Linked DNA regions of Homo sapiens: all the other regions are linked to region 2. Evidence: promoter capture Hi-C in 16 types of primary human blood cells and fetal thymus (Javierre and others, 2016). All regions are on one chromosome and are shown on one strand. Each heading gives the region's core, a stretch centred on a gene start or on the middle of the fragment in contact. The rest is flanking DNA. Distances are from core to core; before and after follow the strand shown.

Region 1 (2,700 bases), core at 128-2,627, 4.2 Mb after region 2:
ATACTAACCGGCTCCTCGTTGGACAGACCCAGCTCGTATGCCCACTACAAATGGACAGGTTGATTTGTGGGTGGGAAGAGGAACAGAAATAAAAATGAGCAAGTTCAGCCTCTTGAGATTAATTCCAAGTGGCTTATGTGTGCTCTTGCTACAGTGTCAGGTGTGGGAAGTCAGCCTGCTTTAGTTCAATTATTTGGATGGGGAGCAATACTACATTTTTTAAGACATAAAAATTACTTTGAGATCAAAGGAAGAGATATTTACCAGCTAGTCAAAGGAGCTCATGGGAACCAAAGGAGGTCCTTTTGATAAAACGCCTGGGCTCAGCTACAAACCCCAAATAGCAATCACTAAATGAACTTCACATGGCAAAAGTATTTCTTAGTTCACTTCGGGATCATAGCATGGAAGGCAAGAGCCAATCTGCTTTAAAAGAAGCAGTGTCCTGGAAATTAGTGTCCACATTCCTGACACAATAAAATAGCCTAATATGTTATTTGCTAGGTTATAGAATGAAATGTAACATCAAGACCCAGTGCCAAGGATTCACGTCAATGCCTGACCATTTGCTGGCCTTCCTGACCAGGATAGCACCCATCAACCCAGTGTGGAGGAAGGACAAGGTCACACAGGCTTCTATTTGCAGACTAAGTGTAGGTTTCTGATTTAGAATACCCTACAAGAAACAGCGTAGTTACTGATATCTGTATAACCAATCACAATACTAATCTTACTTCTCTACACCAAAAAAATCTTGGAGACAAACGTTAAATAAGAACAGCAGTGTTGGTGCTGACCTACCTGGCCAGCACAGTTGACAAAATACTGGCATTCAATCTGTCCTTTATCGGTCTCCACTCCAGTAACTTGACCTTTTTTGACCATTACATGAAGAACAGATGTCCGGTCATAGATCTGAACACCTGTTCCAAGGTAAAGAAAGAGTTGGTGTTTCATCTGATGTTCCAGAATGAAGGCATGTGCAGCAGGTTCTCCACCCAGAAGAAACACTGACAAAGTCAAGTCAATGCTTTAATTTATTTTTTTATTTTATTTTTGAGATGGAGTCTTGCTTTGTCGCCAAGGGTGGAGTGTAGTCGTGCGATCTTGGCTCGCTCTCTGCCTCCTGGGTTCAAGCAATTCTCCTGCCTCAGCCTCTCAAGTAGCTGGGATTACAGGCATGCACCACCATGCCCGGCTAATTTTAGTATTTTTAATAGAGATGGGGTTTTACCATGTTGGTCAGCCTGGTCTTGAACTCCTGGCCTCAGGTGATCCGCCTGCCTTGGCCTCCCAAAGTGCTGGGATTACAGGCATGAGACACCACGCCCGGCTCAATGCTTTCATTTAAAAAAAACACAAAACCCTAGAATCACATCCTGAGACTATGTAAATGGGCCTTGTTCAAGATTGAAAATAGCAACTCAGTTTAAAAACAGACTTTGGAACACAATAATTAAATTCCTGGAATCATAAACTATGGAGCAGAGAGGAGAGGATGTAAATAGTGCGCCTTAAGTGCTAACCTGCTCATACCATGGATATGATACCCTGGACGCTAGTTAAGTCTTCCCCTCATTCAATGCAACTGGGCTCATGATTTCAGGTGTGGATTAAACTTCCAAGGTGTGTTTTCACCTTGAGCTTCTCAAGTCCTGTGGCGGAAAATATTACCTTAAGTCCAAAGGGCATTAATTGGCAGGGCACAGTGGCTCACGCCTGTAATCCCAGCACTTAGGGAGGCCGAGGCAGGTGGATCATCTGAGGTCAGGAGTTCAAGACCAGCCTGGCCAATATGGCGAAACCCCGTCTCTACTAAAAATACACAAAAAAATTAGCCGGGTGTAGTGGGGCACGCCTGTAGTCCCACCTACTCGGGAGGCTGAAGCAGGAGGATCACATGAACCCAGGAGGCGAAGGTTGCAGTGAGCCAAGATTGTGCCATTGCACTCCAGCCTGGGCGAAAAGAGTGAAGCTCTGTCTCCAAAAAAGGGGCATTAATTAGCACTAAAAGCAGTTCTTTAGAACTTTAAAAATGTGGCCCTGAGGGAAAACACTCATTAACAGATAAATAAAATTATAAGTGTTCAAAATGGAGGCTGAGTACCCCAAAGAGGATAATCTTTCCAAACTTGAGTTGGTGTCACTTCCTATTGTGAGACACTTCCTTAGGTAATGTCTTCCCTGCTAACCTATCTTAAGAAAATGCAAAAACCTGCTCACCATTTTGGGAGGCAGCACTTGCCAGGGCAAGAGCCACGTCAGCGGAAGACACCACTGCATCCTCGGGAACATGCATGGCCCCCACCAGGTCGTGCACGTTGAGGAGATGGTGAAGCTCGGCCACTTTCTTGGGGGAGATGATCTCAGAAGGGATACCTATAACACTGCCACAGAACACAAGGGACAATGACATTCACAGGCTCTTTGGCAGAGGCCAGTGTGGTAAAGTCAGGACACGCTTCTAGACTCTTACGTACTTCAGCCCTGCGTTGATGCGCTTCAGGGAGATCAGTCGGTCCTGAGTTTGGGCCAGAAAGATTGAGCCTGTCCTTGTGTAACCTGTAAGAAAAATGAGCCCAAATGAGACAGATCAGACCAAATGTAGGACAGGAGAGTGGAAAATCCACTAGATTATAGGTTAGAAGACCTGTGATGAATCCTGGGACTGCCACTCAATATCCTTGGGCAGGTAAATCA
Region 2 (2,700 bases), core at 1-2,500:
GTCTCAGCCTCCCAAAATGCTGGGATTACAGGCGTGAGCCACCATGCTCGGCCTCGTGTTTTAAATAAAAACTGAAACCTCATCTATATATACATTTTTTTTTTTGAGACGGAGTCTAATCAGATTCCCATTTAAAAATGTTAATGGGTTAAAACCACAGCTGATCCAGGAAGCCCTTCGGGGTGCTGAGCATCATCCAGATTTCGATAACAGGAACTCGGTCAAATGAAGACAAACATAGATACGACCCTGGGGGCGGGGGTCAGGGCCAAATTGAAGCTAGCCCCCTTAGCCCCACTCCGGCATCATCCAGGCATCATTCACTTTGCATCATTCACATTTCGGTGAAATCAACTTGGTTAAACGAGGATAAACATAAATACGACCCTGGGGCCGGGGTCAGGGCCAAATGAAGGTAGCCACCCTGCACCCCACTCCAGCATCATCCATATTTCGGTGAAACCAATTCGGTCAAACGAAGATAAACATAGCCTTGGGGCGGGGCTAAATGGAGCTAGCCCACTCCGCCCCACCCAAGCATCATCCAGACATCAGTCACTTTGCATTATTCACATTTCAGTGAAATCAACTGAGTCAAATGAAGATACGACCCTGGGGTCGGGGGTCAGAGCCAAATGAAGCTAGCCCGCCTCCGCCCCACCCTGGCTTTATCCAGATTTCGGCAAAACGAACTTCAAAACGAAGTGACAGACACGAGCTTGGGGGCGGGGGTCAGGGCCAACTAAAGCTAGCCGCATCTCCCGACCCCCAGCATCATCCAGATTTCGGTAAAACGAACTTCGGCAAAACGAACTCGGAAAGGGAACTCTGTAAAACAAACAGGCTAAACGGAACAGGCAGCCAAGGCCCCGAAGTGGCGGCGGCTGGGGCAGGGGCGGGAGGCTGGATGACTCCGGCATCGTGAGCCGACGCTGGTCTGGACTCGTGAACAAGTAAGGGTCACCAGCCGCCCTATCTGCGTCCCCAGCTCGTCCGCGGCCGCCGCGCCATCTCCAGCGTGCCCGTGACTCAGCAGCGGCTGCGCCGCCGGCCCAGCTATAGGGCGCTCGCTCACCGGTTGAAATGATCCACCACACTGAGCAGCACCAGGGGGTGGACCACCACCTTCTGCACTGCCAGCTCCGGCATCGCGACACACCCCGCTCGCCAGGCCTGGCTCCCTGCCACACGCAAACACCGGCAGCAGTAGCGGTCACCGGTACCCTTTCAGGCCCAGTTCCTCTTCTTCCGGTTCGTCAGCCCTCGCGCGGCCTCCTTCTTCCGCTCCCAGAGTGCCTCGCGCGGCGGGCCCGGATCTTCGCCACCGCCGTCATTTGTGGGCGGAGAAAGGGCTGGAGAAAGGCGGGAATCGCCCCTCGTCCCTCGCCGTGCGTTTCCCTGGACTTAAGGGCCGAAGGGACACCGGCGACTTGACCTCCTGGTATTGGCCTGTACCGTCACCTGCAGAGGCTTTTCGCCTCAATTCCTTCCCAGCACCCTCCCCCCGCCACCCCCCCAAAGTAAATAGTTGACAGTTTACTTTTCTACCACCCGGAAGAAGTTCACTTTTGCTTCAGGTCAAAATCCTCCGCGATTTCTGAGAGGAACTTTAAATCTCTAACATAAGAGCACGCTTTTAATGTAATTTGGTAATTTATCTCATTCTCGTTTTCATTGCCGGGGGAATTTCTCCTTTATCTTTACTGTGGACACTTTGCAATGAACGTGGCAACCTGCAGGTTTCCACCTGTCGTTATATTACTGCGTAACTAGGGCTAGAAGAACGCAATTGTGCCGTTGCTTTTGAAATCAAAATTTACAGAAGCGTTGAAGAAAAGACGGAAGGAAGGCAGTAAGGAAGTATGTTGTGATATGTAGCTAGGAAAGAGAAGACTAAGGTAGACAAAGACTTAAGCTTATTTGCAGGAGGCAAATTATAAGAAAAATCATACAGGTTTATATCGTCTCATTTGAAGTTGCTGTTTCTGTAAACGAAAACAGTACTTAAGCAACCTGAATTATTTACTTATATTTTGTTCTGTTTTTAAACAATTTTTGCTTTCCCTTTATCACCAGAGGATTTTCCCAACATTTTGGCCTCTTGTCTTTTTAAGGTGGACTTCCTGATCTCCAAATGTCAAGGGACACACTCAGTCTCTCTTATTTGTGGGTGGTGAAAAACATTAGCAAAGATTAGACTGAAATTTGGCCACCAATGAGAGACATTAATGTAGTCAGGAGTTTGAATTTGTCTGCATGTGAATTTATCTTTGTCTTCTGTCTGCAACTTGGCTTTATTTTCAGATTTTCTGCTAGATCTGCAAGGAAGTAAATGGCAGGATATGCTTAATATTCATAATTAATTGAAGAGACTCAATGCTATCTTTATTTTTTCATTTTTTTTTTTGGTACAGTTGGTGTCTCACTATGTTGTCCAAGCTGGTCTTAAACCCCCAGCCTCAAGCAATCCTCCCACCTCAGCCTCCCAAACTGCTGGGATTACAGGTGTGAGCTACTGTGCCTGGCCATTCATTCTTAATTATAACTAGAAAGATATAAGGGTTATGTTAATGGGGAAAGAAAACTAAGAATTATTGAATCTATTGAGTGCCTATAATATGCCAGCCCTGGTTCAGACGCAAATATTTAATCCTTTTAATTAATGCTTCTCAAACTTTGATATGCTTACAAATCACCAGG
Region 3 (2,738 bases), core at 1-2,500, 4.1 Mb after region 2:
CTTTGGGAGGCTGACGTGAGAGGATCACTAGAGTCCAGGAGTCTGAGACCAGCCTAGGCAACATAGCAAGACCCTGCCTCTACAAAAATAAAATTAAAAAATTAGCTGGGGATGTTGGCACATGCTTGTAGTCCCAGCTATTCAGGAGGCTGAGGCAGGGGGATCACTTCAGCCTCGGAGGTCAAGCTGCAGTAAGCCAGCCTGGGTGACAGAGCAATGCCCTGTCTCACAAAAAAAAAAAAAATTAAGAGAAAACCTATCACTACAAGTAGTATGACTAACATCAAGAAGAAAACAAGCATGCCTACAATCATTGATTGCTACCTGTCACAATAGAACAAAGGAAGGAAATTATAGGAAGAAAGACTATGGGCCCGGGTGCGGTGGCTCACGCCTGTAATTCCAGCACTTTGGGAGGCCGAGGTGGGTGGATCACCTAAGGTCAGGAGTTCGAGACCAAGCTGGCCAACATGGTGAAATCCTGTCTCTACTAAAAATACAAAAATTAGTCGGGTGTGGTGGCAGGCGCCTGTAATCCCAGCTACTCGGGAGGCTGAGGCAGGAGAATCACTTGAACCCGGGAGGCAGAGGTTGCGGTGAGCCTAGATCATGTCATCGCACTCCAGCCTGGGGGACAAGTGTGAGACTTCATCTCAAAAAAAAAAAAGAAAAAAAAAAAAAAAAGCCGGCCGGGTGCGGTGGCTCACGCTTCTAATCCCAGCACTTTGGGAGGCCAAGGCTGGCAGATCACGAGGTAGGAGATCGAGACCATTCTGGTTAACCCGGTGAAACCCCGTCTCTATGAAAAATACAAAAAATTAGCCGGGCGTGGTGGCAGGCGCCTGTAGTCCCAGCTACTCAGGAGGCTGAGGCAGGAGAATGGCGTGAACCCGGGAGGCGGAGCTTGCAGTGAGCCGAGATTGCGCCACTGCACTCCAGCCTGGGCGACAGAGTGAGACTCCGTCTCAAAAAAAAGGTTCTGGAGAAGGAAGAAACTATTACTATTTGCATATGATTAGACTGAACTCAGCCTGCAGACCTTTTTATAACAGCAAAAGACTAGAAATAACATAAATGTCTATTAGTATCGGAATGATGTACCACAATGGAATGCTACGCCACTGTTAAAAAATAAAGAAAAAAAGAACAAGGAAGCTCTTTTGCTTTAGGTACCAACAAAGAAAGAGCTCTAAGAGAAATTGTGAAGTGAGGCCGGGCATGGTAGCTCATGCCTGTAATCCCAGCACTTTGGGAGGCTGAGGTGTGTGGACCACTTGAGGTCAGGAGTTGGAAACAAGCCTGGGCAACATGGTGAAGCCCCGTCTGTACTAAAAATACAAAAATTAGCCAGGCGTGGTGGCGTGCACCTGTAATCCCAGCTACTCGGGAGGCTGAAGCAGGACAATCACTTGAACCTGGGAGGCGAAGGTTGCAGTGAACTGAGATTATGCCACTACATTCCACCCTAGGTGACAGAGTGAGACTCTGCCTCAATTAAAAAAAAAATTGTGAAGTGAAAAAAAAAAAAACAGGATGAAGAATAGCAGTATGCTTCCATTTCTGTTTTTAAAAAGGGGGCTTGGCTGGGTATGGTGGCTCACACCTATAATCCCAGCACTTTGGGAGGACAAGGTGGGTGTATCACCTGAGGTCAGGAGTTTGAGACCAGCTTGAGCGACATGGCAAAACCTGTCTCTACAAAAAAATACAAAAATTAGCCAGGCATGGTGGCACATGCCTACAGTCCCAGCTACTCGGGAGGCGGAGGTGGGAGGGTGGCTTGAGCCCAAGAGGTCGAGGCTGCAGTGAGCCACGGTCATGCCATTGCACTCCACCCTGGGCAAAAGAGTGAGACCCTGTCTCAAAAAAAAAAAAAAATTAATTATGAATTTGCTTGCAATATGCATACAAATCTGAAATGACATATAAAAGTAATACTAATATTATTGGTGACAGTTGGTGAGAACAGATCAGACGGCGCCAAATACTTTTTAAATGTATCACCTATTCAAAAAAACTTATATAACTTAGTTAAAAATGGTCAAATCTCTTCAATGCAGCCTACCTCAGCTCCCAAGGCCCAATCAGATACAGCTCTCCAAACCTGCCAGTGCTGGTGAACGCGCTGCTGGGAGCACTGGCACCCCACAGTGGTTGTGGGAAGGGAAGGGAAGGGAAGGGAAGGGAAGTGAAGGGAAGGGAAGGGAAGGGTGCCCTCTCACCTCTATGGGGATGTAGAGCATGAATCCTGGCTCTCCTGTGTGCGTCATGCTCATCACCCGGATCCCATTTGCATAGCCCACACTCATCTCCTGCAGGGACAAAGGCAGCAGTCAGCCTGGGCACTCACATTACTTGTCAAGGGAGGGACGCCTGGGGAAACCTTTCATTAGTGCTGCACCCTCTGTTTACTGTTGAGGGAGACAGACGTCAAGGCAAGAATTTCATCCCGAAAGTGGTTAACTTCCAGGTCCTGAGGCACAGAGAATGGAGCACTGCCTATGTGACATCTCTGCTTGCTACTGTTACCATCTCAGGAGTTTTAGCCAAGCTGATGGTAGAGAGTGGAGGAAAGTCCTTGACAAGCACAAAATATTCCTCTTTGCCAGGTCCTTGTGTTAGTCGAGGGTAGCAGGCACAATGAGGACAAGGCGAGTGTCTTCTCTGGGGGAATCAGCAGACAAACCCTGGCCGCCTGCCATACAAAAGATGATGCCCGATGCCCACAGACATAATTA
Region 4 (2,700 bases), core at 56-2,555, 3.0 Mb after region 2:
AGTATGATGATGAACGTTAGTTGATGACCTGTATAGGTGATTGGTACCACCAAAGTGCCTGTCTTAGAGAATGAAATCTGGACAGAGGATGTATTCAACAATCCTACTAGTGAGGTAAGTGGCTTGTGGCAGGATCAGTACTGGGTTCAGGTACATGATCCTCTCCCTGAAGGAGGTAAAGTATGACGGGAACTAAAAAAAAAAAAAACGAAAAGTCACATGTTAGAGCTTGAACAAAGGTCATGTCCAGGGATGAATCTCTAAGGATGGATTTGTTTGAGGTCATGTAGGTGTTGTCACAGTCATTGGTAGGGAAGAACTTTGGGGAAGAGTTAGATGGGTTACTATGATAATCAGAGCTGTCATTCACTGATGATTATGCTTTGTTATATGTTTTTTATATGCTAGTATGTTTTATCTTCTTCTTAAAAAATGATAGGCTTTTTTTTTTAATGAGAAGAAACCAAATCCAAGAGATGGAATTTGCCCAAGGGTGCTTATTAAGCCATAATTAGCAGAGCTGGAATTTGAACCCAGGTCTTGGATATCAAAGCCTTTTTCATTATTCCAGATTACTTGGTTAAATAACAGAGTATGCTGACTTTAGCCTTCCCATTTTATGGAGTTTGTCATGAGTGTGATCGTATTTGCTGCTCATGAGATTTCGCTCACTAATAAATTTGATTCATTTAATTATGTGTTTTCTCTTCCTAGATTTTAATTTGATTTGAAAATGAGTAAGTGCAGAAAGACACCAGTTCAGCAGCTAGCAAGTCCCGCGTCATTCAGCCCAGATATTCTTGCTGACATTTTTGAACTCTTTGCCAAGAACTTTTCTTATGGCAAGCCACTTAATAATGAGTGGCAGTTACCAGATCCCAGTGAGATTTTCACCTGTGACCACACTGAACTTAATGCATTTCTTGATTTGAAGAACTCCCTAAATGAAGTAAAAAACCTACTGAGTGATAAGAAACTGGATGAGTGGCATGAGCACACTGCTTTCACTAATAAAGCGGGGAAAATCATTTCTCATGTTAGAAAATCTGTGAATGCTGAACTTTGTACTCAAGCATGGTGTAAGTTCCATGAGATTTTGTGCAGCTTTCCACTTATTCCACAGGAAGCTTTTCAGAATGGAAAACTGAATTCTCTACACCTTTGTGAAGCTCCAGGAGCTTTTATAGCTAGTCTCAACCACTACTTAAAATCCCATCGGTTTCCTTGTCATTGGAGTTGGGTAGCGAATACTCTGAATCCATACCATGAAGCAAATGACGACCTCATGATGATTATGGATGACCGGCTTATTGCAAATACCTTGCACTGGTGGTACTTTGGTCCAGATAACACTGGTGATATCATGACCCTGAAATTCTTGACTGGACTTCAGAATTTCATAAGCAGCATGGCTACTGTTCACTTGGTCACTGCAGATGGGAGTTTTGATTGCCAAGGAAACCCAGGTGAACAAGAAGCTTTAGTTTCTTCTTTGCATTACTGTGAAGTTGTCACTGCTCTGACCACTCTTGGAAACGGTGGCTCTTTTGTTCTAAAGATGTTTACTATGTTTGAACATTGTTCCATAAACTTGATGTACCTGCTAAACTGTTGTTTTGACCAAGTCCATGTTTTCAAACCTGCTACTAGCAAGGCAGGAAACTCCGAAGTCTATGTGGTTTGCCTCCACTATAAGGGGAGAGAGGCCATCCATCCTCTGTTATCTAAGATGACCTTGAATTTTGGGACTGAAATGAAAAGGAAAGCCCTTTTTCCCCATCATGTGATTCCTGATTCTTTTCTTAAGAGACATGAAGAATGTTGTGTGTTCTTTCATAAATATCAGCTAGAGACTATTTCTGAAAACATTCGTCTATTTGAGTGCATGGGAAAGGCGGAACAAGAAAAGCTGAATAATTTAAGGGATTGTGCTATACAATATTTTATGCAAAAATTTCAACTGAAACATCTTTCCAGAAATAATTGGCTAGTAAAAAAATCTAGTATTGGTTGTAGTACAAATACAAAATGGTTTGGGCAGAGGAACAAATATTTTAAAACTTATAATGAAAGGAAGATGCTAGAAGCCCTTTCATGGAAAGATAAAGTAGCCAAAGGATACTTTAATAGTTGGGCTGAAGAACATGGTGTATATCATCCTGGGCAGAGTTCTATTTTAGAAGGAACAGCTTCCAATCTTGAGTGTCACTTATGGCATATTTTGGAGGGAAAGAAACTGCCAAAGGTAAAATGTTCTCCTTTTTGCAATGGTGAAATTTTAAAAACTCTTAATGAAGCAATTGAAAAGTCATTAGGAGGAGCTTTTAATTTGGATTCCAAGTTTAGGCCAAAACAGCAGTATTCTTGTTCTTGTCATGTTTTTTCTGAAGAACTGATATTTTCCGAGTTGTGTAGCCTTACTGAGTGCCTTCAGGATGAGCAGGTTGTAGTACCCAGCAATCAAATAAAGTGCCTGCTGGTGGGCTTTTCGACTCTCCGTAATATCAAAATGCATATACCGTTGGAAGTTCGACTCCTAGAATCAGCTGAACTCACAACTTTTAGCTGTTCATTGCTTCATGATGGAGATCCAACTTACCAGCGTTTATTTTTGGACTGCCTTCTACATTCATTGCGGGAGCTTCATACAGGAGATGTTATGATTTTGCCTGTACTTTCTTGCTTCACAAGATTTATGGC
Region 5 (2,700 bases), core at 184-2,683, 3.8 Mb after region 2:
CCACGTCTGGGCCGGGCGCGGTGTCTCACACCTGTAATCCCAACACTTTGGGAGGCCAAGGCGGGTGGATCAAGGTCAGGAGATCGAGACCATCCTGGCTAACACAGTGAAACCCCGTCTCTACTAAAAATACAAAAAATTAGCTGGGCGCGGTGGCGGGCGCCTGTAGTTCCAGCTACTCGTGAGGCTGAGGCAGGAGAATGGCGTGAACCCGGAAAGCGGAGCTTGCAGTGAGCAGAGATCGCGCCACTGCACTCCAGCCTGGGCGACAAAGCGAGACACCGTCTCAAAAAAAGAAAAATTAGCCGGGCGTGGTGGCACGCGCCCGTAATCCCAGCTAGTCTACTCGGGAGGCTGAGGTAAGAGAATCGCTGGAACCCGGGAGGCAGAGATGGCAGTGAGCCGAGATCGCGCCACTGCTCTCCAGTCTGGGCGACAGACTGTGACTCCGTCACAAAAACAAAACAAAACAAAACAAAAAAAACTTCCCCCACGTCTGTTTACCATTATTACAAAAAGCTTGTATGATTGCTCACTGCATCTTCTCCATCCTCCAAGGAAACATCATCGCATTTAAACTCTGTCCTCCATTACGCAAACGAGAAAATAGAGGTTCAGAGGAGGAGACAAGTTGCCCAACTACCAAAATACAAATTCAAACCGGAGTCTTGGCTCTAAAGACTGTTTCCGTTATTTACGCTTTTAACACGCTCCATCTTTCTATCTTCCCCTCGGTGTACCATTTACTCTACCCAGAGGGAGACATCCATGCCTCCCGCTGCTTGTCACACCTCCCCCGTCTCAGAGTCCCCAGAAGTTAAAAGCAATCTCCACGAGCCCTATTTTGAGATAGAATATGTTCCCACACTGTGGATGGAAGCGAGAGATAACTGCAGGAAGCCGTTTTGGCGCCTCAACCATCCCTCGGTACCTCCTCCTGGTCCCCAGCCTCTCGGGCCTAGACTGCCCGTGACCCCCGCCAAAGTCTCGGGTCCCCCTTCCATATGGCCGGTCTCCGCCTCCCCGGGCCCGGGGAAGTCTCCAGGCTGTTTTTTTACCCTGCAGCGAGAAGGATGGTGTGGATATCCAACGGATGCTACCTCCCTTCAAAACTTAAGCCACCACCAACTCCAACATACTGGCGTCCGCCATTAGACCTCAAGACAGGGACATTCTGGTGGCGCGCGGCGGAAAAAGGCACCCAATCCGCGCCTGAAGAATATATATAATTTTTAAAAAATGCTTCCGTCTTGCTTCCACACGGCATTACAAATTATTTAAACATGCTTTATTGCTTTGCTTTTTCCAGGAGAATAGAAAATTAATACGTTTTTAGAAGTAGACTTTAAAAAAAAAAAACCATTAGAGTTCATTGGGCACTTCTGTGGGCAGCCCCAAATAGGCGCCAACGAAGAGGGGGCCTCGCGGGACCGGAAGTGCCGAATGGGGACCAAGATGGCGGACCTTGATTCGCCTCCGAAGCTGTCAGGGGTGCAGCAGCCGTCTGAGGGGGTGGGAGGTGGCCGCTGCTCCGAAATCTCCGCTGAGCTCATTCGCTCCCTGACAGAGCTGCAGGAGCTGGAGGCTGTATACGAACGGCTCTGCGGCGAGGAGGTGCGGGGTCGAGCCTCTTCTTTTTCATGGAGGATCTAGGGAGAGTGGGAGCCTTCAGTCGGGAAATCCGGGCTGTGGGAAACTCTCCTTGCTGGGGGATACAAAAAAGCGGGAAAACAAAGAAGCGGAAGCTAGTCGGGTATATGAGTAGTCCTGTCAACTCTTTTCACGCTGTCGGACGCGCCGAGCTTGTCTTCCCTGATACCTGGGCGATCTGCAGCCTCTCCTCCCTAGACCCCCGTTGATTTCCCTGATCCATGATCACCAGTTTCTCCACGGGAGTAAAGTTAGTCTGAGAGTATTTGCCAAATTGCTTGGTTCTCAAAATAATAAGCGCCCTTTTGCATTGGCTTAATTTACAAATTATGAAACGCTCTCATCCTGTTATTTAAGAGGGAAGCCTTTGCAGATTAACTTCTTGAAGCGTTTTAAGACTTCCTCTTGTGGGGAGTGATTTGGGGGTGTGATTTTAGCGTTTTGGTCAAATGCACATCTTTGTAGAGGTTTAGCTTTTAAGACTCAGACACAATTCTCTAATCTTGGACAAGTCACTTCATCTCTGGTACCCTTGATATTTTATCAAATGAGGGGTGTGGACTATTCTCCAATTCCTTTCAGTTCATAACGTTCTATTTCCTGCCTCCTTTAATTTTCAGTGGCAACTCGATGCTGTCAATTCACTTTCGAATGTCAGTTGGGTTCCTTGCTAGTCAAAAGAGATCTAAGCTCTAAGCTTGTCAGCTGTTTCCCAGACCAAACTTCTAGCAAAGTTGAGCACAAAAGGCAGTTTCAGCCTGAGGGAGAGGTGATCGTTGATATCTTTGAGTATTTTCAAGTATAAACTTGCACTAACTCTAGCAGTTTCTGATACGTTTTTCAGCAAGATGTGTGTGGTGTTTTTTGTTTTGTTTTGTTATTTTTAGAAACAGGGCCGCTCTCTGTTGCGCAGGCTGGAGTGCTGTTGTGCTGCAATCAGAATGGATGAAACCAGAGGCGCACACCACCGTGCCTGGCTAGTTTAGTGTGTGGGGCTTTTTTTGTCTGGCCTCAGCAAGATGTGTTTTAAAATTTAGTATCTTGCGGGGC

What was found. Contacts are between HindIII fragments. The CHiCAGO score rates a contact against its expected background, and 5 or more counts as called.
Region 1: a fragment that was not itself captured here is called in contact with the fragment with the promoter of PSMD7 in region 2 in 5 of 17 cell types (total CD4 T cells, naive CD8 T cells, erythroblasts and 2 more); the score reaches 13.0 in total CD4 T cells.
Region 3: a fragment that was not itself captured here is called in contact with the fragment with the promoter of PSMD7 in region 2 in 15 of 17 cell types (naive B cells, naive CD8 T cells, M1 macrophages and 12 more); the score reaches 30.1 in naive B cells.
Region 4: a contact is called between a fragment that was not itself captured here and the fragment with the promoter of PSMD7 in region 2, in 1 of 17 cell types (total CD8 T cells). The highest score is 5.0, in total CD8 T cells.
Region 5: the fragment with the promoter of COG4 here is called in contact with the fragment with the promoter of PSMD7 in region 2 in 1 of 17 cell types (monocytes); the score reaches 6.4 in monocytes.

What each region holds. Positions count from the first base shown.
Region 1 is chr16:70,128,646-70,131,345 of GRCh38, reverse strand. PDPR (pyruvate dehydrogenase phosphatase regulatory subunit) reads right to left here. Exons shown (of 19, transcript NM_017990.5): 5 at 2,481-2,562; 6 at 2,224-2,387; 7 at 802-923; 8 at 1-44. Among named protein-coding and RNA genes, the nearest start is that of PDPR, 16 kb to the right of the region's middle. The HindIII fragment of the contact is 3,871 bases long and covers 1-2,700 here.
Region 2 is chr16:74,295,364-74,298,063 of GRCh38, reverse strand. PSMD7 (proteasome 26S subunit, non-ATPase 7) reads right to left here and starts at 1,250. Exons shown (of 7, transcript NM_002811.5): 1 at 1,076-1,250. The coding sequence starts at 1,149. RefSeq lists enhancers at 236-1,125, 1,026-1,335, 1,126-2,017. The HindIII fragment of the contact is 3,645 bases long and covers 1-1,917 here.
Region 3 is chr16:70,148,038-70,150,775 of GRCh38, reverse strand. PDPR (pyruvate dehydrogenase phosphatase regulatory subunit) reads right to left here. Exons shown (of 19, transcript NM_017990.5): 17 at 2,223-2,312. Among named protein-coding and RNA genes, the nearest start is that of CLEC18C, 24 kb to the left of the region's middle. The HindIII fragment of the contact is 4,530 bases long and covers 1-2,738 here.
Region 4 is chr16:71,283,954-71,286,653 of GRCh38, reverse strand. It overlaps CMTR2 (cap methyltransferase 2), which reads left to right. Exons shown (of 3, transcript NM_018348.6): 3 at 715-2,700. The coding sequence starts at 734. Among named protein-coding and RNA genes, the nearest start is that of CMTR2, 4.1 kb to the left of the region's middle. The HindIII fragment of the contact is 351 bases long and covers 1,130-1,480 here.
Region 5 is chr16:70,522,287-70,524,986 of GRCh38, reverse strand. It overlaps COG4 (component of oligomeric golgi complex 4), which reads left to right and starts at 1,433. Exons shown (of 19, transcript NM_015386.3): 1 at 1,433-1,614. The coding sequence starts at 1,444. It overlaps SF3B3 (splicing factor 3b subunit 3), which reads right to left and starts at 1,171. Exons shown (of 26, transcript NM_012426.5): 1 at 1,059-1,171. RefSeq lists enhancers at 1-627, 1,661-1,800. The HindIII fragment of the contact is 1,828 bases long and covers 522-2,349 here.